2 separate regions of the Homo sapiens genome follow, and region 2 is linked to region 1. Evidence: promoter capture Hi-C in 16 types of primary human blood cells and fetal thymus (Javierre and others, 2016). All regions are on one chromosome and are shown on one strand. The core of a region is centred on a gene start or on the middle of the fragment in contact, and the rest is flanking DNA. Distances in the headings are between cores, read along the strand shown. Region 1 holds the start of LDHC (lactate dehydrogenase C). Region 2 overlaps HPS5 (HPS5 biogenesis of lysosomal organelles complex 2 subunit 2).

Region 1 (2,819 bases), core at 188-2,687:
GCGTGGTGGCTCATGCCTGTAATCCCAGCACTTTGGGAGGCTGAGGCAGGCGGATCACGAGGTCAAGAAATCAAGGCCATCCTGGCCAACATGATGAAACCCCGTCTCTACTAAAAATATAAAAATTAGCTGGGCGTGGTGGCACATGCCTGTAGTCCCAGCTACTCAGGAGGCTGAGGCAGGAGAACTGCTTGAACCCGGGAGGCAAAGGTTGCCGGGAGCCGAGATCCTGCCGCTGCACTCCAGCCTGGCAACAGAGCGAGACTCCGTCTCAAAAAAAAAAAAAAAAAAAAAAGAGAGAACAATAAACACTGGGGACTCCAAAAGCAGAGAGGGAGGAGGGCACAAGGGTTAAAAACAATACCTATTGGCAGCCAGGTGTGGTGGCTCATGCCTGTAATCCCAGTACTCTGGGAGGCCGAGGCAGGCGGATCACTTGAGGTCAGGAGTTCGAAACCAGCCTGGCCAACATGGAGAAACCCCATCTCTACTAAAAATATAAAAAATTAGCCAGGCCTGGTGGTGCATGCCTGTGGCCCCAGTTATTCAAGAGGCTGAGGCAGGAGAATCGCTTGATCCCGGGAGGTGGAGGTTGCAGTGGGCCAAGATCGCGCCACTGCACTCCAACCTGGGTAACAGACAAATCCTGTCTCAAAAAAAGAAAAAGAAAAGGAAAGTCAGAAAAAAAAAGAAAGGAAAAGAAAGAAGAAGTTTAAAAAAAAAGGAAAAGAAAGAGAGAAAGAAAAAGGAAGGAAGGAAGGAAGGAAGGGAGGGAGGGAGGGAGGGAGGAAAGGTCAAAGGATACATAATTGCTTTCAAGGGATTAACCTTGCAACCCTGAATACATCGACATATACAACACTCTGAAGTGCTCACTTGATTTTCAGCCACAGGATGGGCTTCTCACTCACCTTCAGTAAGATACTAATAGCACAAGCCATGCCTACGGCACCAGTTCCAACAATAGTAATTTTACACTGGGAGTTTTCATCATCCTCAATTAGCTTCTCAATTAGCTGCTCCTTGACAGTTGACATTTGGAGAACCTGATAGGGATAATGCAATTTCATTGGATTAACCACACTGAACATCTAAGAAACTACCTCTTCAGTTTGCAGAATGTTGGAGCCGGGGATGGGGGGAAGCCAAAGAAAGAATTTCCTGGTCAAAGGATGCGGGGAGGGTAAAGCAAGGCCCAGTCTACCAGGCAATGGGAGGGCTGGGGCACCAGCGGGCTTTTGGATTTCTCCCTGCCCCCAGCCACCACTTTCACCCCAGCACCACACGCTCACAAATGCTTTGCTTGGCGCAATCAGTACAGATGACCCACAGGGACAAAGCACCACCTTTGAAGGAAGGCACAGAAGTGACACCAGAAAAATACACCAACGACAGTTGAGGCGCTAAGCCCGTCGACGGTTGCCCTCCGTGCGACTCGAGACACGCACGTTCCCCCGCTCGGCTCTTATGCGTCAGCACGCAAGCTCCGCCCCCCGCCGGCCCAGGCGCGGGCATGGGGCGTCTTTTCTGCCCTGGAGCGCAGTGTGGGTGGCGGCGGTCCAGATCACCGAAATGCTGATGGGAAGAATTCTAGACTGGCCCAAAGAGTGTGCAAGACGGGGATATCCATGCATTGTTTGCAGGATTTTAAAAAATTATTAACTTCTGTAACTTCAGGACTGAGTGCTGAAATAAAGTTAGAATTTCTCTTGAGAGAACAGAGGGTGGTAATGAAACGCAAAGACGCGAAGGATGCTTTCAATTTACAGCAAGAAATTGTTAATATTTATAACTCATGGCCGGACGCGGTGGCTCACACCTGTAATCCCAGCACTTTGGGAGTCCGAGGCAGGTGGATCACCTGAGGTCAGGAGTTTGAGAACAGCCTGGCCAACATGGCGAAACCCCGTCTCTACTAAAAATATAAAATTAGTCGGGCATGGTGGTGCATGCCTGTAGTCCCAGCTACTTGGGAGGCTGAGGCAGGAGAATCGCTTGAACCCAGGAGGCGGAGGTTGCAGTGAGCCAAGATCGCGCCACTGCACTCCAGACTGGGCAACAAGAGAGAAACTCCATCTCAAAAAAAATTTACATATATATTTTTTTTTTTGTGAGAGAGATATATATCTCACAGAAGGGGACACAACCTACTCCATCTTTTGTAGAGTATTTGCATTTGAACCTTTTTCAAAATCCAAAATATAATTTATTTTTCTTATAATAGCCTGTAGTGTTGTTATTGTTGTTGTTTTTGAGACAGAGTCTCACTCTGTCGCCCAGGCTGGAGTGCAGTGGCACAATCTCAGTTCACTGCAACCTCCGCCGCCTGGGTTCAAGCAATTCTCCTGCCTCAGCCTCCCAAGTAACTGGGACTACAGGCGTGCGCCACCACGCCCGGCTAATTTTTGTATTTTTAGTAGAGATGGGGTTTCACCATGTTGGTCAGAATGGTCTCCAACTCCTGACCTAGTGATCCGCCCTCCCAAAGTGTTGGGATTACAGGCGTGAGCCACCGTGCTGAGCCACCGTGCCCAGCCGCCGGGCAAATTTTTTTGTATTTTTTTGTATTTCACCTTGCTGGCCAGGCTGGTCTCGAACTCTTGACCTCAAGTGATCCACCCACCTCGGCCTCCCAAAGTGCTGGGATTACAGGCGTGAACCACCGCACCCAGTCAGTATTTGTTTTCAATATGGTTCAGATTATGCAATAACCCTGCTTTAAACTCTTCCGTGGCTTTCCATTACAGGTAGAGTAACCCACTTTTACCACAACCTAGATCTTCAAGATTTGGCCTCCTACCCCCACTTCCCATATCATC
Region 2 (2,700 bases), core at 201-2,700, 120 kb after region 1:
CCTCAGTTTTCTGAGTCGTGGGATTACAGGCATGTGCCACTGTACCCTCTGATTTCTTCATTTTTTTATAGAGATGGGGTCTTACTGTGTTGCCCAGGTTGGTCTTGAAATCCTGACCTCAAAGCAGTCTTCCCACCTTGGCCTCCCAAAATGCTGGGATTATAGGTGTGAGCCACCATGCCTGGCCCTAGAAATTAGTTTTATTTCTCTCATAATGACATTCAGAAAATGGTAGAGCAGTGCTGGGGAAGTTGAGGTTAAAGTAAAATGTTTATAAATGCAGATGTATTAAAAGAAGAAAATCTCTCATGTAACTTACTAATACAGAAATACTATATGGGGTACTTATTGTGTGGCAGATATTATGGTAAACACTTTTCAGCATTGTCTCATTTCATCCTTACAATAATGTTTGGAGTAGATGGTGTTATTCCATTTTATAGATAAGCAGTCTGAGGCAGAGAGAGATCTTAGGTAGCTAAACTGCTGTAATAAATATCTGATAATGAAGTAACTCATACATAAATAGAAGTGTATTTCTTGCTCATGTAACAGTCCAGGACAGGTATTCCAGGTCAGTGGGTAGCTGTCTCCCAGGTGGTAATTCAGCATTCTAGCATTCCAAGTTCCTTCCATTATTTTCAGCTCCATCTTCCCTTAAGGGATGTGGTCATGTTTGGGTTGCTATGTCTGGGGAAAGCATGTAGAAAGTGCTGTCTTATAGGCCTGGCCTGGTAGTGGCTTACCTCTCTTCTGTGTACATTTCCATTGATGAGAATTCTGTCATATAGCCACAACTAACTGCAAAGGAAACTGGGAAATGTAACCTGTCCAGGAGGAAAAGAATGAATATAGGTGAAGAGCTCGCTTACATGTCTGCCTCAGAGACTTTGGTGCATAGCCCGCAGTATCTACCTTGGCGGAAGGTCGCATATGTCATCCTGACATATAATAGAAACCAGCTATCATACCCTAAAAACTATATGCATTGCCCTTTCTGCAGCCATAGTCCCATGTTTTTGAAGAAGTGAATTTTCTTAATTCCAAATCCTACTTGAATAACAGATGCCATATTTCTAATACTTTAGACTTTAAGCAACTTTTCATTCATTACCAAAAGTGAATAGAGATACATTTTTATGTCATCTTACTTAAAGATATTTTAGCTTTCTAGAAACATGGATCTATAGTTACAGATCTGCTTTAATTCAAATATAGCAGTTAAAAGCATAATAATTTTTTTTTTTCTGAGTTGAGGTAGATTGTCTTTTGTGTGAAATAAGAAACAAGCTATTTCTCCTCAGGTAAGTTCAAATGTGTGACATTATTACTCATTGGAAATTTACTGTATCTGTCTCTATTATGTGATCATACCCAGTCACAGAAGAGCAGAAAAGAGTCTCCATCAGCCAGAGTGATAGTTGTTACTACCAGTGCTGGCTAGAGGAAGCATGGTGGGCAATTTGAGTGATATGGCTGCTTACTTGAATTTAGGTGGATATGTCTGGTTTAGCTCCCGCGCAGTCATCAGGCTTCCCCAAACCTCTGAATGGCCTCCTCCTCTGAATTCCTTTAAAGTACTTATTGCCTGACACAGTCAAATGGGAAACAATGAGACTGGGGAAAAAATGACTTTTTTAAAAAAGCATGTATCAGAAAATGAATGTTGGCTCTTAGAACCTGGTGAGTAGGCCTCACCCTTCTAATGATGTGATAATTATGGGAAACAGCTTTTGGAACTGTTATTTGGGATTTGTCTTCAGAGGCAGTTGAAAAATACTTGCCCAGCTTAGGCAACGTAGCAAGACCCCGTCTCTACACACACAAAAACACACACACCAGCCTATGCAATGTAGCAAGACCCTGTCTACACACACATACATATAAACACACACACACATGCCAGCCTAGACAACGTTTCAAGACCTTGTCTCTACACACACACACATGCACACACCCAGGTATTGCAGCTAGGCAACGTAGCAAGACCCTGTCTCTCCACACACGCATGTGCGCATGTGTGCACACAGGCACTGCAGCTAGGCAACGTAGGAAGACCCCGTCGCTGCACACACACACACACACACACACAGCCAGGAGTTCAAGGTTGCAGTGATCACCACTGCACTCCAGCCTGGGCAACAGAATGAGACCCTGTTTCTAAAAAACTAAAAAAGAAAACTACTTGGAAAAAAACCCACTTTACTTTAGATTCATACTTTTTTTTTTTAAACCACAAATAGTTTTAGATCATCACTCCTTTCACCAGACTTGATTTTAAGTGACTTTTGGCTATTCCAAAAAGTCAAATCTTCTGTTCTTCAGAGAATGAGTATTTGCTATACTGGTAACTTTAAAAAAAGGTCAAATATTTTAAAATTAATTTCATTGAATTTAATTCTAAAAGATGGAGTAGGAATACTAGTTCTAGAAAAAACTGAGCAACTTGGCATTGATGATAGCTATGTATATTGGTTTTTGATGTGTGCTTATATGGACAGTTGCTATATATAGGCCTAGATACTCATTATTTTAAGAGTAATAGTCACTGATGTATTAATTATATGTTCCTTCGTCTTATTTAAAACTTTTAATATGCTTTGCCTCCCAATTAGATTTTAAGGTTCTTAAAAGTAGAAATTACATCTCTTGTACTTTTATTTGTTTCTCTTGTAATGCTTAATATTGGGCCTTGCACAT

Evidence for each region. The method cuts DNA at HindIII sites, captures the fragments that hold promoters and counts their contacts. A CHiCAGO score of 5 or more calls a contact.
Region 2: a fragment that was not itself captured here is called in contact with the fragment with the promoter of LDHC in region 1 in 2 of 17 cell types (total CD4 T cells and activated CD4 T cells); the score reaches 5.8 in total CD4 T cells.

What each region holds. Positions count from the first base shown.
Region 1 is chr11:18,410,936-18,413,754 of GRCh38, reverse strand. It overlaps LDHC (lactate dehydrogenase C), which reads right to left and starts at 1,437. Exons shown (of 8, transcript NM_017448.5): 1 at 1,347-1,437; 2 at 912-1,046. The coding sequence starts at 1,037. The HindIII fragment of the contact is 7,298 bases long and covers 1-2,819 here.
Region 2 is chr11:18,288,127-18,290,826 of GRCh38, reverse strand. The region is part of intron 16 of HPS5 (HPS5 biogenesis of lysosomal organelles complex 2 subunit 2); the gene reads left to right. Among named protein-coding and RNA genes, the nearest start is that of SAA1, 23 kb to the right of the region's middle. The HindIII fragment of the contact is 4,236 bases long and covers 1-2,700 here.